Regions from separate parts of the Homo sapiens genome. Here all the other regions are linked to region 1. The links are contacts of gene promoters, found by promoter capture Hi-C in blood cells and fetal thymus (Javierre and others, 2016). All regions are on one chromosome and are shown on one strand. Each heading gives the region's core, a stretch centred on a gene start or on the middle of the fragment in contact. The rest is flanking DNA. Distances are from core to core; before and after follow the strand shown.

What was found. The method cuts DNA at HindIII sites, captures the fragments that hold promoters and counts their contacts. A CHiCAGO score of 5 or more calls a contact.
Region 2: a contact is called between a fragment that was not itself captured here and the fragment with the promoter of INPP4B in region 1, in 13 of 17 cell types (fetal thymus, M2 macrophages, megakaryocytes and 10 more). The highest score is 25.0, in fetal thymus.
Region 3: a fragment that was not itself captured here is called in contact with the fragment with the promoter of INPP4B in region 1 in 3 of 17 cell types (fetal thymus, M2 macrophages and megakaryocytes); the score reaches 5.5 in fetal thymus.
Region 4: a fragment that was not itself captured here is called in contact with the fragment with the promoter of INPP4B in region 1 in 2 of 17 cell types (non-activated CD4 T cells and megakaryocytes); the score reaches 5.7 in non-activated CD4 T cells.

What each region holds. Positions count from the first base shown.
Region 1 is chr4:142,843,323-142,849,613 of GRCh38, forward strand. INPP4B (inositol polyphosphate-4-phosphatase type II B) reads right to left here and starts at 2,979. Exons shown (of 26, transcript NM_001101669.3): 1 at 2,887-2,979. The region is part of intron 3 of USP38-DT (USP38 divergent transcript); the gene reads right to left. RefSeq lists an enhancer at 3,736-4,322. The HindIII fragment of the contact is 4,051 bases long and covers 641-4,691 here.
Region 2 is chr4:142,353,813-142,360,103 of GRCh38, forward strand. The region is part of intron 7 of INPP4B (inositol polyphosphate-4-phosphatase type II B); the gene reads right to left. Among named protein-coding and RNA genes, the nearest start is that of INPP4B, 490 kb to the right of the region's middle. The HindIII fragment of the contact is 620 bases long and covers 2,006-2,625 here.
Region 3 is chr4:142,370,934-142,377,224 of GRCh38, forward strand. The region is part of intron 7 of INPP4B (inositol polyphosphate-4-phosphatase type II B); the gene reads right to left. Among named protein-coding and RNA genes, the nearest start is that of INPP4B, 470 kb to the right of the region's middle. The HindIII fragment of the contact is 414 bases long and covers 3,046-3,459 here.
Region 4 is chr4:142,439,587-142,445,877 of GRCh38, forward strand. The region is part of intron 3 of INPP4B (inositol polyphosphate-4-phosphatase type II B); the gene reads right to left. Among named protein-coding and RNA genes, the nearest start is that of INPP4B, 400 kb to the right of the region's middle. The HindIII fragment of the contact is 2,656 bases long and covers 1,487-4,142 here.

The sequences.
Region 1 (6,291 bases), core at 1,729-4,228:
AGTATGCTCTAAAGAGCTCTCTAATCAAAGGTTTCTAGCTCAACATTTTTTAAAAGTATTAACAAAGTGGCCTATGGAAAAGATTCCTTAAGGCTTTAGAAAGATATACAGGACATGTTGAAAAACTAAGGTACATAATACAGAAGAGACTCACACAGCTTTCACCTGAACATTTAACTTGAGATTATTTAAAACAGGGCATTTCTATCTATTAAAATCCCCATAGTTGTGAAAGACAAAAATTTATTTTGTACAGATTAGGTATGATATTTGTATATCTAATATTAGTACTACTGGGCATCACTCAGTATGAAATAAGAAAATGTAATAGATATTCAGTAAGCATTTTACTCACTAATTATGATTCCATAATTTCTTAACTTTTTGTTCTCAGATGTCAAATACTTACCTAGAAACTGCCACTCATTTGGTTGCTATGAGTTTTAAGATCAGTTAGCAGGTTTTTTTTCTGTCTTTCAGAGAATTGTCATCTTGGGTTCTCCCTCAAGGTAGTGAAAGTTAACTTTGTTACCCATCTGGGGATTTATAGTACTTATACTAGAAGATGCTCCAAGGTTTCAGAAAGGAATTAATTACTTTCAATTTGCACAATTTAGAACAAATATCTGGCTTTTCCCTAAGCTTAATGATTTTCCATTTCACACAACTAAAATATAATAGCATTATTTTATAATCAAGTTTAACTGATGGTCTATGATAGTAGAGCGATTTAGTATTTTGACAAAAATCTTATGAGACATGAAGTCATTCAATTTGCAGCCCCAAACTGAAGCTCAAACACAACATTTTAAAAGTATTTTCTGCCTATACCTTTGACTGCATGCTACTTTAAATAGAGGGACAAGACTAAATGGTCTATCTGGTTGTTCTTACACTTTATAAAGAGTCAAAAGCAAATTTGAGTTATAAATATGCACATCATAGTGATCATTATTTTATCACAAATAAATATTGATTTGCTTAATCAAAGAGAATACTCTCCTAGAATAAGAGCAGTATTTCAATCTGCAAACATGTTTCTTAATGTCACTGAGCATTTAGCCTATCTTCACACACACATTTCATAACCTTTCAAGGACAATCTTCTACATCACATTTTAAGGAAATACACTGAAAAAGCAATCCATTTTGCAATAGCATTTTACATTACTACAAATTCACGAGGTTCAACCTTCAATGCCCATGTACCTTTCACAAAACTATTGATCATTTCCTATCAATGCTTTACAGGATTATATCACAAAGGAACACATAATGCATGTATGTGCATCAATGCGTAAAGGAGAGGATGCATTTCTGTGCATAGTATGTGAACTGACAATGCCCACTTGCCCAGTCCTTGCTTTACTCAACTTCTTACACATCATCAGCCAGCTGCCCTGTTGATGATTCCTTGCACCTTATGCGCTGCTTTATCATTGAGTCAGATTACTACCATTTCTGGTCCAGAACTCATTAAGAAAAGTCCTTTTTCAAGCAAGGTCTTTGAAATGTAGTTGTACACCTATAAAAGAACTATCTGGAGCTCATCTTGAGAGAGAGAAGATGAATTTATCCTCTGTCTTTAGGCTTTTACTTACAGAGCCACACCTTTATAAACAAGTTCTGTCTGTCATACTGACAGGAAGGAGATATGCAAAATGTAACATCTGGAGTCATAAAATATAATGACCTCAAATAACATTCCAGAAAGAGAAAGGAAAACTAGTTCTGGTTAGGGAGAAGATAAAAGAGGAAAAGGAGTAAATTTACATCCTTAAAACAAGAGTAATAGAAAACCCTACCGGGTTTTTCCAGTAAGTTTTGTGCAGCAGCAGCAACAACCTAATCAATATGTGCTTCCTCACCCTCTTGTCCCCAAAGAGAAACTGCTGGGCCCCTCTCCACCGACTCCCCAGGAGCAGAAACTACTGCCCCCAAGGAAGGGAGAATTCAGAAGCGTGGGGAGGGGGAAAAACAGGTATATGTGGTTCTAGCATCCTCATCTTCATATCAGCTACCAGCCTGAAACTACATTCAGGAACCAGGCTCCCAGACATTCCCCGGCCCTGGGCCCTGCCTGAGCGCCAGAGAGCTTGAGGAGCCTGCAGCATAGTTCTCAGACCCGAAACAATGACCTCCCCCGTCCAAACCCAGGCACTCTTGCGCCAAGGCCCTAACCTCTCAGCGAGACCTCTTTGGGGAAGGACAAGAGATGCTGCCTGATGGCCGAGAGAAGACATGCCAGGCTTCTCTGCCAGAATGAGTTGTTGAGGGTGGGATGAAGGTGGTCAAGGAGATGGGCTCTTTATTTTTAAAACAAAAAACAAGGCAACCGGGACCACCAACATCAGTCACCCTCACTCCCCACCACTGCCTCTATTCCTTAAGGACTTCTTCCCAGGCCGGCGGCGGCGGCGGCGGCGGCGGCGGCAGCTTGCGATCATCAGGATTGGAAGTGAGAGCGAGTGCCCGGGCCAACCTCAGCGTCTCTCAGGGACAGCGCAGGTGGGCGCAGCCTTGGAAGGTCAGCGAGGCCAGAGCTCAGAGTTCCACGGGGGCCCGGAGAGTGTGCGTGTGTGAGTGAGAATGCGAAAACGCGCGCGCGCCGGGCAGAGGGGCGCTCGGCGAGAGGGTAGGCGCGGTGACAGGGGTACCCCAGCAGCCGAGGAGAGACAGCCCACCCCACCCTTTAAGCTAAAGAGCTGGAGGGGTGATGGAGGCTGCAAGACGGAGAAACTTGATGCAAAACAGACAGGCTCCCCCCTCCAAGACGTGCCGCCACGCTCTCAGACACGCTCCCTCGCCTCCCGGATTACCCACCATCAACCACCCCACCCTGCAAAATTCCCCCACCGAGCCCTAGGATCCCAGGCGGGTAATTACCTCTCCCGGAGGCGGAGTGGGGGGCGGCAGCAGCAGCAGACACTTTTAGCCTGACTTTCCTGCGTTCGCTTGCGAGCGTGTGAGCGTGTGCGCGCCCAGGAGGAGCTGTAACCTGCTATTTATAGACCGAAGCCTCAGTACCCGGGGCTGAGAACCCGGAGGAAACTAGCAGGCGGCGGCGACGGCGCAGGGCGCCGGCCGCGGCTTCGCGAGGCTCCAGCAGCTCCCCCAGCCTCTGGCTTCGGCCGCGCTCCCTGCTCGCTCCTCGCCTACCAGCCCCGCGCGCGCCCCAGAGAAGTTGTCACCAGCGCGGCTGGCTCTCCGGCTGCTCACACGCCCCCTGGCACAATTGCTACTTTCTTCCACCCCAACCCCCACCCTCCCCGCTCCTCTTCCTCCTCCTCTGCTCTCTCCAAGCGGTCTCCTCCCAATGTCACCAGCGACCGAGTAGAGGCGGCCGTGGCAGCGACAGTCGCGCAACTGGCGCTGCTCGCTTCCCGCTACTGATAGAGCGGAGATGGTGGCCCGGCTGCCCACCCCGAAATTACCACGCTGGCTCCGTGTGCTCACACCCCGTACCCCGACCCCTTTCTGCGGCCCCTCTGCCCGCTGGGTCGCCCACCCAGACTGGGCTGTGGGATCACCGCTACCGCGACGAGGGGGGACCCGAGGCCGCCACGCTGCTGCGGGGGCAGGAGAAACCACAGAGAAAGAACCCGCGGGAGGAAGAAAGCGCCCCAGACCCCGGCCTATGGCAGCGCAGTCCCTAGACCGAGGGTTTTTGGAAGGGGCTTGGGATCCCTGCTGTCACTGCCTGCGTCTAGGCATCCATTCACGCCTGCTGGACCCCAGTCTGCAGCCGCGCTGGGACCCCTGTCTCTTGCCCCTCCTCCCCCTTGCCCCGGGCAGAGGTCGGGCTGAGGAGACCAGCTTAGAGCAGCCCTCGGCCACCCACCGCCAGTTCCCACGTCGCGGCGGGTGACTGAGGCCGAGATGCTCCCAACTAGCGTATGACATGCCTTTGATATCCCGGGTGCGTGGGGACAAATCCGCCCTGAATGTGTTGGGGTATCAGGAAAACGGGGTATGTAAGCAAGCAGTCTGGACGGAGACTAAAACTCCCCCACTTCCTAGCCCCTAACAAGCCCACAGGGGAAAGCACGCACCCTGGTTATTCCGGGCTGTGTAGGGTGTGGGGCAAATGACTCTCCCCATCTGCGCTTTACAGGTGCCACCTGGCGGCTCTCTCGGAAAGGTTTTGATGGAGCCGTTCAAAGGTAAAGGTGCCCAGAGCCAGCCCATCAAGACACCCCAGCCCTTCTCCCTGAGGGCGCTTTAAAATCACATTTTAAGTAAAGCAGTGTACGAATGCTTGTACACAAGTGTTACATTTGCCATGCAAAAAGACTGGAATCTCAAAGTCAGGACAGTGAAATCAATTTGGGTTAAGTCGGGGCTTAACAGTTTCACAAACCAGGAAGCTGTATGTACCCCCAGCTGTCACCCCTGCTGTCACTGCCCGCATCTAGGCATCCTTTCACTCCTCAAACCTTTGACCACCACATTATAAGCCTTGCCAATGAGGACAGGGACTTTGGGTTTGTTTTGTTTTGTTTTGTTTTGTTTTGTTTGGTGGGGGGAGTTGTTTGTTCGTTTCATTTATTTTTTTCATCACTCTGCTCCCAGAGCTTGGGACAATACCTAATATTCTGTAGTTTCAATAAATGTTTATAGAATCAAATAATAAACACTATAGGCCAGAAACTGCTTGGCGCCCCCGAAGCCCTTCCTTTTGCTTCTCTTCAAGCTTTTTCTCCTATGCTCAGCCTCTACCCCAAGTGAGCTGAATGCAGAGAGATAGGAGAGTGAGGAACAAATAATCCCTGTCAAGATGTGGATCAGCTTTGAGAAGCCTTCACACAGTTAGATTTCTCCTCCATGGGGCAGCACTGAACACACCCATCTCCAAGCAATGGGTAAGCCGTGTTCATAGAGATCTGCTGGAAAGATGATACAACTTTCTCACTGGGCAGTTTCTGATTTTTCTCACAATAGAGAGAGATTGAAATAATATCAGGACATTAGGATGTCAGAGCTTTGCTACTAAATTGGAAATATGGTTAACATATCTGTCCTCTAAGTGGAAGAGTGTGTGTGTGTGTGTGTCTGTGCGTGTGTGTGTTTATGAAGACTACAGCAGCAATGCCAGAAATACCAAACCATACCTCCTAAAAGACTGAGTTGTAAAATAAATGCAGTTACTGATTCTATGGAAATGGACGTTTAAAGTGAGATGCTTAGAGGACCCTATTATAATTAAAGTCCAGACATGGACCATGCTGACAAAGTCCTTTTACAGGGCGGCTGAAGAATATGTGACTTACTTGTGTACATCACGTAGGAAGTTTGAATTCTCAGAAAAGAGAGAATATGAATCAGGATGCCATCAGATGCATGTACCACAAGGCATTTTTAAAAATCCATCAATCATCCTGATATTTACCTTTTTTAGTTATTTGGTGGCTTTTTCCTTGAATAAGCCTGGAGGATTCAGATGCTTCCGTGGTTTAATAAACTCATTCAGCATTCACTTTTACAAACCTTGAACTTTTGCTGACTTGTACCCCCAAAACATAACTCCATTTGCCAATGAAGGACAAAATATTTTTCATTTCCTTTTGAAATATCTTTGTAGGGCCAGAAGTCAAAGGTGATTCCCTGTAGTTACCTTGCTGTCTAAAGCAATAAAATCAAGCCAGGATCTACAGGGTTGGTGTCACACTCGCCTTTGCAGTGAAGCAGCCTACACTCTCTCCATAGATTCATTGTTCCTCTAGATTTTTATCTCAGGTGAGATTAATATGACATCATATCTACTTTTATGATCCTTCACTATTCAAAATCTCTTCTAGAATATAGCACCAAGCATCATATAGGTTTTTTAATGCTTACTCAGTTATGTTAACAATAACTTGTAAAGTAAGTCCTTGTTTTCATCTCAATTTTTAAAAACTTAAAAATTACAGAAACTTTGTTATGTATACATTAGCATCATCTCTTGTGTGTATATTGTGTGTGTATGTCTGTGTGTATTTAAATTAAGGGGGATGTTGTTAGAAATAAGAACTAAAGTAAAAAGGATAAATTATTGTAAAGATACTTGGCTGCCCCATGGAACCCCAAAACAAGAATGCAACTGGGCACTAGGAATGACTGGAAACAGACAGGCCATTAGAACTTTCTCTGTCTCTTTTCCCCCACTACATTAACTGTCCCATTCTGTATCTCTCTCCCTCTTTCTCTCTCTCCCCACATACATTGTCTCACTCTCTGCTTCTCTGGTGTGCACTAAATTGCATGGTGGCTAACGACTCTTAAACTTTATAACTTGTGAACCAGTTCCAA
Region 2 (6,291 bases), core at 1,066-3,565, 490 kb before region 1:
CAGAATGCCATTACCTAGCTTAGTGACTTTGGGCAGATCACCCTGTTCTGTGAGTCCCACTCTCCTCACTAAATGGTTTCTAAAATGTTTTTGATTCCAAAATTCTATGAGTTTTTATCTTCAACAATTTTTTCCCAATGCTAAATGAAATTTTGTTCAATAACTCTTGGTGGTCTAAGTCATTTCCCCACTGTGTGATTTAATTGACATAATGCCGTTCAAGGTCACAGAGCAAAACCTAAAACATCTAGCAAGCACATAAAAATTCAAGTCAAATGCATACAACCAGTCAGCTGCAAAGATCTCAAATGCAATAGCCGAAACCACCTAAGCAGACAAATCTAAATAGCAAAGTCACAATCTGCCTTTTATCTAGCATATTGGGTATCTTGTGCCACGAACCTTCTCAGAGCCTTGGGACATGGGCTCAGCAAATGTGTATGCTGACTCTTACACCTAAAAATTCAGTAGAAGCACAGATCATCTTCCTGAATGTGCCAGCAGATCTTTATCCCATAACTATGTGCAATTCAAACACAGGTTTGGATGAGTACGGCTCATTTATATGTAGGAAGAACAGAATTTTCACAGGAAAAGCAGAGTGGAAGATTCTTGTGTCCCCCACAGACCTGGAGTTCTTGTCTATTTCCATTCGGTACCTTTTATCTATCTTGGGCATTTAAGGAATAAACCGGCCAGAACAATTCAGATGGAAGACAAAAAATAAAATAGAATCATTAGTTCCAATTCTTCCAGAGAATTCATCTAACAAAATGAGCTGGTGTTATGGGAGGTAGAACAAAGAGAATCCTAAATTGTATTTAATCCAATAGCTTTACTTCACTAGTTAGAAAACTGAAACTTAGCAAGGTCCAATCTTTCATTGGAATGACCTTTATTTTGAGCTTATTTTAGATGTTATTATGTGCTTTGCCATAATGGGGAAAGGTGAATGGAAAATTCTGCCTTCGCATATTCCAGAGATTAGGGAGACAAGCTAAATATACCTAACTAACATACGGCTAGTTATCTATTTCTGTATAACAAAGCGAGGACTTAATGGCTTGATGGTGATTTATCACTTCTCACAGTTCTGTGAGTTGACTAGGCAATTATGTTTGTCTCATCTGGGCTCACTCATGGGGTTCAGATAGCTTGTGGCTCGTGGCTCGAGTGGGGCTTGGGACTCTAAGATGGCTTCATTCACATGCCTAGGGCCTCAGTAGGATGACTGGCATGGCCCTGAAAACTGCGAAGCTCTCTCTCTGTGCAAACTTTCACCTGGACTTTTTATATGATTCTGGAAGTATTCCAAGAAGGCAAAAGTAAAAACTGCAAAGCGTCTTAAAATAGAAGTTCAGAAGCCACATTATATCACTTCTGTTGCATTCTATCAAAGCAAGTCACAAGGACAGATCAGTTTCAAAGAGTGGGAAAATAGACTCCACCTCTTTATAGGAGGAGCTGCAAAGAATCTGTGGTCGTATTTAATCTAACACATCCGGACAACAGAGAGAAATCAGGAAGTTGAATGAGATGCAGATTTGCTCTTTTTTTTCCCCCCACCAGAATATGTATTTAAGGATAGAAGTGATGTTACAGGTCATTAATTTATTTATTCAGATATTTCAGTATTTTGACTTCTGACAAATCAAACCCATGCCAATGCTATGCTTTTATACAATTTCTACATCATAACTGGCACTCACTAAACCCACAATCAACAATGAAGAAAAAAGTAGGCACAGGCATGTTTCATAGAAACTAAAATAGACTTGGTCAGCTTATTTATTAAGCACATATTCTTATCTACTATGAAAAGTCATGACCTTCTTAGCTGAGGAAAGCAATTACTTTTGCACAGAGAATCTTTATATAACAACACAAAGGATATTCAAAATTTACCAGTTTCTGGCAAGACTAAAGCACTTAAGGCAGGCAGTGTTAATCATGCAAACTTTGTGAAGCAATTCAGCTTATCAGAGCATGAGATGAACGAAGTCAAAGCTTTGATCCTCAGATAGGCCAATATATTTCATGGAGAGAAGCCTTTTTTTTTTTTAACATAAGGATAGCTTTGATCACTTCTTCAACTACTGAGTCTTTTCTTAACCTCAAGAGAAATGAACAGAATTCAATAAGATTACCTATTTTTAAAATGCCACATACTCCAATAGATACTACTGGGGCTACAAAAAATTAGAACTATGTAGTTTTATCCTCCCCAAATCTTTCATATTGATAAGGGCAAAAAATAGGATGACACAATTGGTTTACAATGTATAAAATGATAAAGTGCTGGACAGAAGGTACAAATTACAATACAAGTTCAAAAGAGAAAGATTATATTAGTTAATCTAGAAAATGTACAAAGGAGGTGATATTGGCAGAATACCTTTAAAGATGGGGTAAAACTTTTGCCAGGGGAGAAAGGCATTCTAGATAAAAGGGAGAGAGGAGAGCAGTGAGTGTTGATTTGAAAATAAGAAAGGGTAATTCAACTGTGTAAGAATGAGAATGTACAGAGATGTGTGGCCTACTTTTCTCAGAGACAGGGGTCAAGTAAGGGAGAAATCTAAATCTTATATAAATGTTTGAAATGATATGAGAAGGAAATGTGAGGAAAGCTTGGATAGCTTTCCATCCAGAACTCAAGGGTTGGGGATCCTGGTTAGCAGGAGAGCAAAGACCAGGACCTGCAGGAGTGATGAGGAGCTGGGAGGATAAAAGGTTGCTCTTGAGTTAGTAAGGTTTCAGTTGTGAAGTAGTACAAATAACATATTTGGTTTCTGCTCTTAGTTCCTGGCACAGAACCCTAAAACCTTTGTAATTTCCTGAGTGATAGAAGTGTTAGGTGCATCTTTTGTCCTTTTATTTGGTCTTTGGCCTCAGTTCCTGACATAGAGCTTCTAATTCCTTGGAACTTTTTGGGTGATCAGAGGGTCTTTTATTCTAATGAGGTGACTCTTGGTGGGATGCTGGATGGCGGCTGGTCACCAGGAAGACCAAGGCATGGTTACAAGTTTGGAGCTTTTAGCCCCAGCCCTCATCCTGCAGGAAGGGGTGAGGGATTACACATTGAGTTAAAAATTGATTATGCCTACTTGATGAAGCCTCAATAAAGAACCCTAAACTACTGAGTTCAGAGTGCTTCCAGGCTGGTGAATACAACTATGTGCCAAGAGGGGGCACACCCCAACTTTACACATACAAAAGCTCTTGCACACAGGATCTTGCCAGACCTTGCCCTATTTACCTCTTCATCTGGGCTGTTCAGCTGTATCCTTTAAAATATCCTTTGTGATAAATTAGCAATAGTAAGTAGAATTGCTTTTCTGAGCTCTGTGAACCACTTTAGGAAATTATCCAACACTAGAAGGGGATGGCGGGAATCTCTGATTTGTAGCCAAGTCAGACAGAAATTGTGAATAATCTAGGGACCCACTACTTGTGATTAGCATCTGAAGTGAGGGGCAGTCTTGTGGTACTGAGCCCTTAACCTGTGGGGTCTTTGCTAACGGCACTGGTTAGTCTTAGAATTAAATTGCTGAACACACAGTTGATGTCCACAGGGATTGGGAGAATTGTTTGATGTGGAAAACCCACACATCTGGTCACAGAAGTGTTGAGTGTGAGTGTGAATATGGTGACAAAAAATACCTTTTTCCCATATATTTACATGGCAATTCTACCACTTTCGTAGGGATAAATTGGAGGGCAGACACTCAAACCTCCCTTTTCTCCTCAGACAAACCTCAGAAATAGTGAAACCTATAGATTATGGGGAGAGGCCTCATCTTTATCTAGGAAAGTCCTCATATTCATCAACATGAGTACTGAATAAGATGGGTATTAAATAGATGATTTTCACAGTCTTTTCTGGCATTAGCATTTTATGATTTTGTGCTTTTGCCTCTAGTAAATCTTATTATTTTGTCTATAGTAAATCCTTGACCTCTTAACTAGTTGTAATTATTTTCAAATACAGAGACAACCACAGAAAATAACATATTTGCATTATTGTGGATATACATGTTTGTGAAAGATGTAAAATATTCATAGAATAATGCAAATTAAATTGAGGACAGTTGATATTTTTTGAATTGAAGTAAGAAAAATAGGATCAAGAAAGGACACACAAAAGACTTGATATGTTTCTTTACATCTTCCTTTAAAAGTAAAACTAATGTGAATATGGTAAAATGTTACAATTAATAGTAGGTAGAGGGATATTTGATATGTTTCTTACAATGTATGTAGAGATTTTGTTCATATCAACTGCTTTAACAGTGTGAACATACAATTTATCTACATATTACATTTTAATGAACCTTTAGTTTTCTTGAAATTTTATACTAATATGAAAAAAATATTGCAAGGAAATTCTGGGAGACTGGTGGCAATACTGCCTAAACATCACAGTTATCTGAGGAATTTTTTAAAAATACATAGGCTTTATTCTAGAGGTATGCATTCCATTTTGTTTTTACATCATGGTAGACCTAGAAAATAATATTTATAGGGTGCACTGGGGTAAAGAGAAAAGTTTACTAATAGACTGTGAAAGAGGACCAGCCATGTCTGCCTCAGCAAGCACACCCAGCACCCCAAGGGCTGAGAAGATTCAAATCTCAATAGATTGCAAACTTCTTAATTTCTAACATAGCAATGTTCCAGGAACACTGGATGAACAGCTCTACTCTAGAACAGAGATTATAAAATTTAGCTGCATATTAGAATCTTCCCAGGAGCTTTTAAAAAACTGCTACGCCTAGGCTATACCCCGGAATGATTAAATTAGAATATCTGACAGTAGGATCAAGACATCAGTGATTTATAAAAAAAAAAAAAAAAAAAAACTCCCAGGTGATTCCAGCATGCAGCCAAGGTTGAGAGCCATGTCGAGCAGTATCTCTCAAATTCCTCCCACGATAACAATCACCTAGAATACTTGTTACAAATGCACATGCCCACACTTTAAACCCTTCAGCAGCTGGCTTGGGAAGCTGTATGCTTAACAATGCCTCAGGTATATGCCTAGATGCAACATTGCTGTGTCTCAACTGAGCAGTGGTGAGAGGGCTACTTTAGAGCCACTTGAAAGTCCTTATTTGTTGGAGCAATCAATGTGGCAAGTCATCTTGCTGTTTCGGATACTTTCCGTGTTTTAGAGGGCTATTCTGACCTAGGTACTGCAATACTGGGTCTGGCTGCTATTGGAAAAATTAGTTCAGAAATCATCAGGAAATGATCCCAGCCTGTGGAGGAGCTGTATAGAAAGTAGCTGTTTGCTGGTACATATCATATTGTCCATTGTGACAGGAAATAACCTTTGAGAGTCTAGCCACAGAATTCTTTCTTCCCTTTCTTTAAAAGACTGTAAAGAACACTGGCAAAAAACAAACAAACAAACAAAAAAAAAAAACAGGCTCTGGAGCCAAACGGCCTTGGAAAATCCAGGCTCCACTAAACAACTAATTGCAATCTTGGGCAATGCAATTAATCTAACCATGCCTAGGTTTCCTTCTTGTAAAAATAGTCACAATAATAACAGTACCTACCCTCATGTTGTTGTCACAAAGATTAAATAATTATAAATGCCTAGAATTTAAGTGTTTAAGAAAGATGATTAGTATTACTATTACCAATTTACACTTCTCAGTTCTTCCCTCGTTCAAGTATTCTTACATTTTTATCATCTAAACCTCGTCCCATTTTTACCCTCCCAAATTCCTATTCCTTTATTTTCACTGATTGTAACAAAGGAAAAACAAAGCAGTAAAATGCCAAAATTCTTAACTATTTATCAGATAACAAATTCTACATATTTTCTAAAATATATTAAGTACTTTCCTCTCCTTTTTTGCCACAATTATCAATAAGTAATGTTGAGAAGATAATAACACATTGACTGTATCTAGCTTTATGCTTTATGCTATTCAGATTCAATTATTTCAAGGATGTCTAGCTTTTGGTATCCCATACTTACTTTAATAACTTGTTATAGAGTTAAAATAACCTTTTTGGGCAGGAAATCAGGAAATTCTTTTTCATGTCAAAGTTTATCCGATCATGCTGAACTTTAATCCCATTTTCTCTAGGTTTGTTTTCTGTGCCCATTTAAAAAAATGGAACTTCTGAAAACTATTATTACATGATATTGATTGTAGAAAGAACTTCAAAGCTTTAAAAATTATACTAGAATGTTACAATATGTTTTTGAGTTAAATTTCATATATAAGAGGGCCTTTAAAGAAATATTAAAAGAAATAGCATAATTTTAACATTTAG
Region 3 (6,291 bases), core at 2,003-4,502, 470 kb before region 1:
CCTAAAACTCATATGAAACCACAAAAGACCCCAAATAGCCAATGCAACACTGACCAAAGAGAACAAAGCTGAAGGCACCACACTACCTGACTTCAAAATATACTACAAAGTTATAGCAACCAAAACAGCATGGTATTGGTATAAAAGACACATAGACCAATGGAACAGAAGAGAGAGCCCAGAAACAAATTCACAGCCAATTAACTTTCAACAAAGGTACCAAAAATGTACACTAGGGGAAAGGACACCCTTTTCAATAAATAGTGCTGGGAGACCCAGATATCCAAATGCAGAAGAATGAAACTAGACCCCAATCTCTCACCATATACATAAATCAACTCAAAGTAGATTACAAACTTAATCATATGACTCGAAACTATGAAACTATTAGAAGAAAACACAGGGGAAACACTTCTGGACATTGGTCTAGGAAAAGATTTTATGGCTAACACTTCAAAAGCACAGGCAGCAGAAAGAAAATTAGACAAAGGGGACTATATTAACCTAGAATGTTTTTGCATAGCAAAGGAAATAATAAACAGATTAAAGAGGCAACCTGTAGAACGGAAGAAAATATTTGCAAACTGTTTATCTGACAAGGGACTAATATCCAGAATATATAAGGAGCTCAAACAACTCAATAGCAAAACAAACAAAAAACAGAAAAGAATTTTATTAAAAAGTGGGCAAAGGATCTGAGTAGACATTTCTCAAAAGAAGACAAATTGAAACAGGTATATGAAAAAATGCTCAACATCCCTAATTATTAGAGAAATGCAAATCAAAACCACAATGAGATATCATCTCACCCCAGTGAGAATGGATATGATCAAAAATACAAAAAATAACAAATGCTGGCAAATATGTGAGGAAAGGGAGCTCTTATACACTATGGTGGGAATATAAATTAGTACAGCCATTATGGAAAACGGCATGGAAGTCTCTCAAAAAAAAAAAAACTAAAAATAGAAGTACCATACCAGCAGTCCACTACTGTTAGTATTTATCAAAACGAAAGAAAATCAGTATATCAAAGGGATACCTGCATCCACGTGTTTATCACAGCACTATTCACAGCCAAAATAATGAAACCAATGTAAGTGTTCATTAGTGGATGAATGGATAAAGAAAATGTGGTGTATATACACAATAAAATACTATTCATCTATTAACAATAATAAAATCCTTTCATTTGCTGAAACATGGATGGAACTGGAGGTCATTACGTTAAATGAAATAAGCCAGGCAAGAAAGACAAATATCATGTGTTCTCACTCCTATATGGGTGATAAAATATAGATCTCATGGAGGTAGAGAGTAGAATAATGGTTACCAGAGTCTGGGAAGGGGAGATGGTTTATAGATACACACATGCAGTTACATAGAAGGAATTAGTTATAGTGTTCAACAGCACAATAGTTAACAATCATTTACTGTTTATTTCAAAGTAGCTAGGAGAGATTTGAAATGCTCCCCACACAAAGAAATGATGAATGTTTGAGGTGATGAATATTGTAAATACCTTGATTTGATCATTACACATTCTATGCCTGTATCAAAATATCACATGTACCCCATAAATAAGTACAATCATTATATGCATAGAGGAAGGTAAAAATAAAAGCAGAAAATATCATATGCATTGGGTTCTACAATGGAAAAGACAGAGAGGGTTGGGAAGCATTTCAATGATGGGCACATCTCTCTTCCCAAGGTCTTATTTCATTTCCAGTACGACTTCTGACAGCTGGTAGAAATGTGTGCCTCTGACAGAGCAGTTTCACACATTCTCAAGTGCAAAAAGTAAGATTGACGGCATCCTTTCCATTTCCATCATCAGCTGAAGTGTCTCCTCTCTAGGAAGGAGTAATTAGCTCAGTCTTCTAGTACTGGAAGTCAAACTAAAGCATCTTGACTACACTGACTCCTGCTGCCTTCCTAGTCTCACAAATAGGAATTCATATGATTAAGCACATTTTACTTCAATCTAGGCCTTGAACCAATGACCTACCTTCTATAACTGCCTACACAATACATACATACATACACACACAGGGGCATGTAGTGCACTTCTCTTCTGGACTTGAAATACAGATGGTTTTAAACTGAATCATTTATATTCTATGCCAGAATAGAAATCAGTCTCAAATAGCTGCAGGCTCTAACAATGACTATTTTGAAAATCCAACTCCATATTATGCAGCATAGTGGAAAGAGCTCTGATTGAAGAGCCAAGTCCTGTATGTGTCATAAATTCTATTTTTGCATCTTTATTGAATAGATTGGTGCCCTTTCATAAAGCAGAAAGTGTTTGAGATGAATAGAGTAACAACATTTGACCTTTTAAGGTTCTGACAACCTAAGATTATAAATCTCAAGTATTGAGAGAAAAGTGTGTTTTCGTGAAATTGTTGGAATTGCTCCCTTTGAGACTTAAAATATATAATTAAAAACACTCCTTGCAAAATATAATAGGTATCTGAACAATAAATAATATTTACTATGTCATTTCTAGTCATCTTAGAGTATGATGATTAAGAAGAGCACAGACTCCGAAGCTAAATGGCCTGGTTCAAATCCAGTTCTACTTCATAGATTTGTGACTTTGGGAAAGCTGCTTCACCTCTCTGTGCCTCAATTTCCTCATCTAGAAAATGGGAATGACACTAATAGTATCTATGTCTTAGTACTCTTGTGAAGATTAAATGAGCAAATATGTAAGGCCTAGAGAAATGTGTCTGATACAGAGCAGTGTTACTAAGAGTTTGTTCCTGTGGTAAGGATGAAGACAAGTACATATTTAAAATATAAATATAGAACATTTTAATATAAATAAAGAGTCATTTAGGAAATATTATCTTTGGCTATATTCCCAGTTGAGAGCTTTCCTGTGGTTATTGTTAAAGCAAACAAACAAAAAGCAACTTTTCCAAAGTTAATTATAGTACTGGAATATAAATAAAAATCATGTAATAATATTAAGAACAGCAGCAATATAAACTGTCGTGCATTGAGCAGCCACGGTATGACAGGCACTCTACCAGAAGCTTAAGGAGTCAGTAATTAGACCATATAAAACAGGTGGCAAAAAAAAGGAAGAGAAAAGGAGTGTGAATGAACATGCAGAAAGATTGTTTTAGTTTAGGGTGTGTTTGAACACGTTTGTAGATAAAATGGGACAACAATTATCTCATTTTGTCCTTACAACCACCCTACGTAATACACACGCTTATTATTCCCCATTTTATTGATAAGTAAAGTAAGGCTCTCAGTGCTTAAGTAACTGGCCCATGATTACAGAATTAATTGTGTTGAAGTCTGGATATAAACCCTGATTCAGGTGAGCCACAGTTCACATTCTTAACCACATAGAGGCCATTGTTCTAAGCAAAGATGCATTTTGTATGCTATAATTTTTTTCTTATAACTTTTCTTTCAGTCATCTAGATTTCTCAGCAAAGCTTACCCAGATAGGTAAACATTTTGGAAGATGTAGAATAGAGAAGATTTTTTAGAAGGGGAGAAGTGGGAGAGAGCTTTCCATATTGCAAATTTTTGAGATGGTATGGGAAACAGCATATATGCCACTATTGAATGTAACTTCGGATATATTCTTTCATTATTCTACATGAGTTTTTAAATTACATTTACTTTGGATCCTTCAGTTTTGTCAAGCTCATCAAAATCATCTTTTTATTGATATTGTTATTAATGTTAAGAAATGACTAGACAACACTAATTTCTTCATGCTTCTTAAGGAAGTCACATTACTGGTGATCTTCATATAACACAATTTACTCCCAACCAGAATCTCCAAATATGTCATGAAAAATAATTATCAATTCCGTTTTTTATTCAATGAGGTAGGTCTAAGAGAGGCATTTTATTATTTCTCATTTGGTAAATTGATCCAAGGAAGGAACTGTAATGTATATAATACTGTAGAAGAAATTTTATAATCTAAACTTAAAAAATAAAAGCAGTGACTTCTAGTAAAGGTAGGAACAATTACCAAGAGATCTCCAGCTCTCCGTTCTGGAACCCTCACTTAAACACCCTAAACTAATACAACCTTTCTGTGTGTTCATTCACACTCCTTTTCTCTTCCTTCTTTTTGCTACCCATCTTATACGGTCTAATCACTCACTCCTTAATCTCTCAGATTCTAATCTCTTTTCAGCACCTATTTTCTGAAAGGCCAGCAACCTCCCAATCAATAAATCCATTTTTTTTTCATCTTCCTTGACAGCTCTGTGGAGCTAGTCAACACTGACCAACCTTCCTCTTTGTCTTAAAATTCTTCCATAATTTGTTTTTCAGGACACTGCACTACTTGCTTCCCTCCCCCACCCTTTTTTTCTTACTACTCTTAATCTTGTAACTGAAAGCTGATCTTTTCATTCTCCATATGTCAGTGTCAGTATTTCTCAAGGTTCTTTGATCATTTTCTCCTTCAATGTTTATTTCTCGAGTCATTTTCAAAGATCACTTCTGTAAGGATGCCTCCCAAATCTTTATTCCAAACCCTGTGGCTGTTTGCTTAATAAAAAAGTCATTTCCAACCAGCTTTTTTGCACATCCCACTCTAAGGAGTTTGGAAGTAGAGATACTTGCTTTATCAGCTTTCCTTGCTACTATTGGTAGCCATGGGACACAATTTTGGCAAATGAAATTAGAGAAAAAAGTCTAAGAGAGGTGTACTTTCTTGAATAAAAGGGACAAAATCAGAGGTACTACTCCTTTCCCCTTTGCTTCCTGGCTTATAAAGCAAACATAAGGCCTTAGAACTTTTGCATTTATCTTGCAACTATGCAGTGAGAGACAAGCATGTGAACTAAAGGTCAAGATGATTAGCATGGTAAAGTGGAAAGAGAAAAATCCTGGGCCTTTGATAATATCATTAGGAATCTGACCCAATAACAGCAAGTGCCCACACCTGGACTTTTTGCTGCGTGAGGGAAAAAATAAAGCCTAATTATTTAAGCTACTATTAGACAGACGTCTCTAGACAATAAAAATCTTGTCACTGTATCTTCATTCCATTCACTTATTTCCAAATTATTGCTTTGATATTTCTACATGGATATCCATCTGCAGGTCAAATTTATTATAATGAAAATCAAATTGATATAAAGAGGCCTGTGCATATGTCATTTCTTTATAGTTTCTTAATACATGGTAGCATTTTATATGGAATAAGTATTGAAATATTTAAGTAAATTAGTAAATTGTGACACAACTGAAACCTAGTGTAGCAAATATAATTTCTAGGAACTTTCAATTAGTGGAAATAGCATGAAGATATATAGTTCTTCTTCCCACCTGACTATTTTCATCTTGATATTATCAGCATCCTGGGATAAGATCTCATGATGACCTGAAAACATGGCTTTGTTCCTCTCAGATGTCAGTTCTTCTACACTGAAGTCACATATATAACCCAGCTAACCTAAAACAGGCACCAAATGATACTGACTTCTTGTAATGATGACAGCTATTACACAGCAATGTAAGGTAGCATTATCAAAATGGAACAATTGAAAGGTCATCAGAGCATTTTGGCATGTGTTTTCAGATCCACTGACTCTCTGAGCTTGATGCGTTATCTAACACAGTTACTCTAGACACCTGTGGACACTTCAAAAAGTGAGTCCCTTTCCCTCCTTAAGAAATTCAACTTTAAAAGGCCGCTCTTAGCCACATCTCCAAGTATGGTTATCATCAGCAATGAGCTAAGTGGAAATCATCACCCAACTCAAATTATTAATGGAGTTATGTACCTTAATACTGTTCCTGAGAAACTTCCTATAGTTCAGTGGATTCATGGTGGAAAACTCTGAATCTGGCCCACATTTCAATCTGATTTTGAGCAAATTACTCAAATTCAGTTTCCAGTTGCCTAATCCACATGGTAATACGACAAGGTCCCTATTGAGGATCAAATGTGGTGCTCTCTGTACAAATTATTTGTAATTAATGAAGTTTTAAATCATTTATTTGTTCTCTATTTTATGTAATGTCACAAATCGAGTTAACACTGCTGCAAGTGCTATGTATAGCCATAATGTTACATTACCATTTCCTTTAATTTTTCATGCATTAACACCACTTATACTCCTATTTGATGTTTAAGTAATGGCACTTAAGCCTTAATTCGATTTCATCTTTAATGTTTCCAAGAGTCTAACTGGTTATTTTTTTCTCACAGGAAAAAAAAAATTTTTAAAACAAATTTTAGGTGGCTCCAAACAATCTAACCTGGTTAAACATTGGTCCATTTCACGAATTTTT
Region 4 (6,291 bases), core at 1,565-4,064, 400 kb before region 1:
TTCTGAGACATGAACAAAAGAATGCACAAAGTCAAGAGTTTAATCAATTTTTCCTCCTATGAAGCAGCATACAAGTAAGAAAGAAACTCTCTAATGTTGGTATTCCCTATCAGCTTCTAGCCAAAATTTAAAACTCTCTCTGAGCCAGTTATGGAGTTGAGTTGATGACAACCTATGATATCAAATATGCAGAAGAAACGGGTCACATTACACCCAATGGCTTTCTACATTCCATTCTATCATCCTCAGATACATTCCTAATTGACATACCTTCAAATTCTATGGGCCAGGTTTAAGTGCCACCTCATCCATGATGACTTCTCTTTCTTCAGCTGAAAGCAATACCATGCTCTCCTAAGTTCCCCTAGTAACTTATCTCACATAATTTATTACTGTTTATTTTCTACTTTATAGATATACATTTTTTCCTCTGCTTTTTAATAAAATAACTCTGTCAGAACGTAAATTTGATTCTCTTATTTCCCCATAGCAACAAGATTGATTCCAATAAGCACTAGATAAATCTATTCATCCATTTATTGTATAAACAAACATTTATTAAGAAGTCACCATGTGCAAGGCACTGAGCACACAGAAATAACTAACTTAGGATTGGCCTTTAAAAGAATTCAGTCTTAGTAGGAGGAAATCAAATGAATAGTTACAGTGGAATGTGATAACTGCCATGAAAGGGATATTATCAGAGTATAGGGCAGAAGGAAAGAGCACCAAATAAGGGCTCAAATAAATCCAGGATGACTGCATGGAAGAGGCTCCAGGAAGTGAACTACGTGAAGGGGAGAGTCCTGGCAATTCTAGGCCAACGGAGCAGCAGGAATGAAAGATGTGGGAAAATAAGAATATGACAAGTCAGAGAATTGCAAATAGTTCAGTTTGGCTAAATCCAAGATGTTGGTTTTCCTAATGTTTTTTATCCTGTCAATGAAATTTTTTCATATGAAATATAATGGCTTATATGTAAAACAGATAAAAGCAGAGCTGCTCTGTTTGGTGTGGGCTGGGAAATACAAGCCCTATTAACCCCCTGCCCGTCATTCACTCCTTGCCTTCACTTTTTCTCTCATGGAGCTTTAAAAATACATTCTTAGAACTCAATTTGAAAACTTTGAGTCTCCTTCTTTTTTAAAATAAATACATTTTATTGTGTATATTTAAGATATGCACATGACGTTATAAGATACACATATATGGCAAAATAGTTACTATGGTGGAACAAATTAACATATTCATCATCTTATTCATTTACCTATTTTGGCCCCTGTGGCAAGAGCAGCTATAATCTACTCATTTAGCAAAAATGCTGAATAAAATACTATTATTAAGCACTGTCCTCATGTTGTCCATTAGATTTTTGTGTGTATGGTGGTGGTTATTCCTTATCTGAGATGAGAATTGCTTCCAGAGAAAAACTAGCAAGACAAGCGGAGATCAGAGAAAAAGCTTGAAGGCCAGGCTAGAGAGAATAAGCTTAATTATGAGAGCAGAAAGAAGCCACATTAGATATACTTAAGCAAGAGAGTGACATGATCATACGTGAATTTTAGAAAATCCACTACAGTGTCAAAAAGTAAAGACTGTACTGAAAGGTGGTAGCTTGATAAGAAAAGCAACCTATTTAGAGGTTAATATTCAAGGAAAATAAAATAATAATGAGGGTTAAGCCAAGATAGAAGTATATGATTAGAGAACAGAATCTAGATTCTAAGTTATTAAATAGAATTACCTGATGTTGGTGATAGAATTAGATGTGATATCAGAGGTGAATTCATGCAAAAGAGAAAGATCATGCTACCTAGTAAATTACAAGCCACTAACCTATCAGGAGAGAATAAAAGGAATTTTAGTCAAGGATAGTTAATTTAGTTTTACTCATGTTGTTCTGAGGTGCCTTAGAAACACACATGGGTCTAAATTTTCTGGAGAAATATTAAGTCTAGAGAAGTATCTTTGGTTAAGTGTATTTGGCTAATGGTTAAAACCAAATAATTCATGAAGTCACTAAAAAAATGCATATAGTGAGAAGAAGAGAGGGCTGAGGAATTAATCTTAAGGTGCAAAAATATTTAAGGGGACAAGAAAAGAAGTTAGTTGGAAAAGGCATGGTCAGTGATGGGAGGAGCAGCAGGTAGGAAGAACAGAGGGAACAGTGTCATCACTCTACTTAGCTGATATTTCTCAAGCAGATAAGGCCACTGAGTTAAGAAATAGCTTTTTTTTTTTTTTTAATAATTGGGATACATAAGCACATTTAAATGCTGAAGTAACATGGCCAGAAAAGAGAGAGAGAGAGAAATAGAATTGAACATTAAGGAGATACAAGCAAGGCAAAATCCAGGTGGTACAATCCACTATAATTAAAGAAAGGAAGGTGAGTAGAAAATGATGCATGATCTGAAATTGATGATGCTCTTACCAATGGCTTTATTTTTTTTCTTAAATAAAAAAGCATATTTATGAACTCAATGTAGAAAAAGATTTTTCAACCCAACTTCAAAAGCATAGACCATAAGAAAAACATGGGCCAGGCACGGTGGCTCACGCCTACCTGTAATCCCAGCACTTTGGGAGGCTGAGGTGGGTGGATCATGAGGTCAGGAGTTCGAGACCAGCCTGGCCAACATGGTGAAATGCCATCTCCACCAAAAAATACAGAAATTAGCTGGACGTGGTGGCATGTGCCTGTAATCCCAGCTATATGGGTGGCTGAGGCAGGAGAATTGCTTGAACCCGGGAGGCGGAGGTTGCAGTGAGCCAAGATCATGCCACTGCACTCCAGCCTGGGCAACAGAGCAAGACTCCATCTCAAAAAAAAAAAAAAAAAAAGAGAGAGAAGAAAAAAATAAAAAGATGAATAAATCTGACTACTTTAAAATTAAATGTTCTGTGGGCAAAAGATGTCATAAAAAGTGAGGAAACAAACCACGGACTAGGAAAATATATTTGTCACATAGAAGGTACCAGTTTCCATTTAGGATGTACAAAGATATAAAAGAATGACTCCCACCCTAACTTCAAGGAAAACTTAAATGATGCATGAAATCATAAGTTTTCCTTAACTAGTAAAACAGATGAGGTCTCAGGGCAACCAACTAGTTGGATACCTAAGGAAATTTACATGTCTCCATGGAGCAGAGCATGGTAGGAAGATATGTCAGGCACTGTATTAGTCTGTTCTCACACTGATAATAAAGACATACCTGAGACTGGGTAATTTATAAAGAAAAGAGGTTTAATGGACTCAAAGTTCCATACAGCTGGGGAGGCTTCACAATCATGGTGGAAGGCAAAGAAGAAACAAAGGCACATCTTACATGGCAGCAGGCAAGGGAGAGCTTGTGCAGGGGAACTCCCATTTATAAAACCATCAGATCTCGTGAGACTTATTCACTACCATGGGAACAGTATGGGGGAAACTGACCCCATGATTCAATTATCTCCACCTGGCTCTGCCCTTGACACATAGGGATTATTACAATTCAAGGTAAGATTTGGGTAGGGATACAACCAAACCATATCAGACCTCAAAAAACCTGGTAATAAGAATTCAGCCAAAATATATAATGTCATCTGTGGGCTAGCATGAGAATATAACACTCCTGAGAGCCTTTACTCAAGAGTATTCTGCACTGACTAAAGGGTCTTCTTTATGGACCTCACCCAAATGCCCATGAGAATGATTGGAAGCAGAGTGGGTGCCTGGAGAAAGTGTCCCTTTGAGGTACATGCCTGCTGAAGGGGAACAGCAGTAATTGCAGGAAAAGTACAAAGACCCACTTGGATCCTCTTTCCTACAGAACAAAAATGACAGACCCTGCTGACCTTAGGTGAAGACTCATTGAAATTAGAAAGGGAGGAGCAGTAAATCTTCCTGGGATGACACCACTAGAGATCCTCTGATCCTTTATTACTATAGAGTGATCGGATCACTGAGAAAGTCCCACCCCAAGACCCAAGAACATCGGGCCTGTCTACAACCAAGCATGAAAGATGACGATAGAGAATGCCTCTGCCCCCGCCACCAGGCTGAGACACCAAGAAACAGGTGACAGAAGGCTACCTCCCACCAGAGGGGGCATGCAAGCACAAATAATGAACCTCTCTCAGGTAGAAACTTCCAAGAAAGCTTAAAGTAGAGAGTGGAGAGTGGAGAGCAGTCTCCAGGCATCTAAACCGCACTCTAAGCACAATTTAATATTAAAGTAGAATAAAGAGGGGAGGAAGAAGAGAAGAAGATAAAGGAGAGGGAGAAAGAAGAGGAAGAGAAGGAAAAGTGGGGCAGAAGAGGAGAAGGATGAAAAAGTGTCAAAAGCAAAAGCAAAAAAATAATATGTACATATATACCAAGAGACCCAGACTCAGATATTACCCAGGTATTAGAACTAACAGAAAGGGAATATGCTAAAAACTCTAGTGGAAAAAGTGGAGAAGTTGCATGACCAGATGGGGAATTTTAGCAGAGATAGAAGCTATAAGAAAGAATAAAACCAAAATACTAGAAATGTAAATAAAACATAATAACAGAGATGCAGAATGCCTTTGACAGGCTAACCAGTAGGTTTGACACAGGCAAGGAAATAATCAGTGAACTTGAAGATAGTCTAATAGAAATTATCCAGACTTATACATTTAAGTTCCTTGTAGATTTTTGACAGTAGACCTTTGTCAAATGGATAGATTGCAAAAATTTTCTCCCATTCTGTAGGTTGCCAACAAACAACCCCATCAAAAAGTGTGGGCGTAGGATATGAACAGAGACTTCTCAAAATAAGACATTTATGTGGCCAACCAACATGAAAAAAACCTCATCTTTACTGGTCATTAGAGAAATTCAAATCAAAACCACAATGAGATATCATCTCACACCAGCTAGAATGTTGATCATTAAAAAGTCAGGAAACAACAGATGCTGGAGAGGATGAAGAAAAATTTACACTCCCACCACACTGTTGGTGGGAGTGTAAATTAGTTCAACCACTGTAGAAGACAGTGTGGCGATTCCTCAAGGATCTAGAACCAGAAATACCATTTGACCCAGCAATTCCATTACTGGGTATATACCCAAAGGATTATAAATTATTCTACTATAAAGACACATGCACATGTATGTTTACTGCAGCACTATTCACAATAGCAAAGACTTGGATCCAACCCAAATGCCCATCAATGATAAACTGGATAAAGAAAATGTGGCACATAAACACCATGGAAGAGTATGCAGCCACAAAAAGAAAAAAAAGAATGAGTTTATTTCCTTTGCAGGGATATGGACGAAGCTGGAAACCATCATTCTCAGCAAACACACAGCCACGAAAAACCAAACACCACATGTTCTCACTCATAAGTGGGAGTTGAACAATGAGAACAAACAGACACAGAGAGGGGAACATCACACACCAGGGCCTGTCAGGGTGTGGAGGCCAAGGGGAGGGAGAGCATTAGGACAAATAGCTAATGCATATGGGGCTTAAAACCTGGATGACTGCTTGATGGGTGCAGCAAACCACCATGGCACATGTATACCTATGTAACAAACCTACACGTTCTGCACATATATCCCAGAACTTAAATTATAATAAAAAAAGAAAAAAAAATTATCCAGACTTAAACACAAAGAGTGAAAAAGCACGATAAGCAAAAAAGCATAAAAGAGATCCACAGTAGACTGTGACAATTCAAGCAGTCTAGTACATATGTTATTTGAATCTTAGAAGAAAAAATAGAAAAGAATAATTATTTGAACAGATAATGACTGAATTTGCAAAAATACTGAAAAACAACAAATACAAGAACAAAACGTCAAGAAAACTGGTGTGGCCACATCAATGTCAGACAAAATAGATTTCACATTAAGGAATACTAACATGCACATTATATAATTATAAAATGGTTAATTCATCAAGAAGACATTACGATCTTAAATGTGAATGTACCTAAAAATTTCATAACAGATGAAGCAAAAACTGACAGAAGTGAAATAGACAAATCCACAATACTTGAGGACACAAACATTCCTCTAATTGTCAGAGTAAACAGAAAATCAGTGAGGATATAAAATACTTAGACAACACTACCAACAACTTGACCTAACTGACACTTATAAAATGCTCTGCCTAACAATAGAGTACATATTTTTTCAAAGTGCTTATGGAATATTCACTAAGACAGCTTCTATGCTGACTCATAAAAGAAACCTTAACAAATTTAAAATAAATGAAATCATAACAAGTGCATTTTCTGACCACAAGGAGATTGAACTAGAAATAACTAACA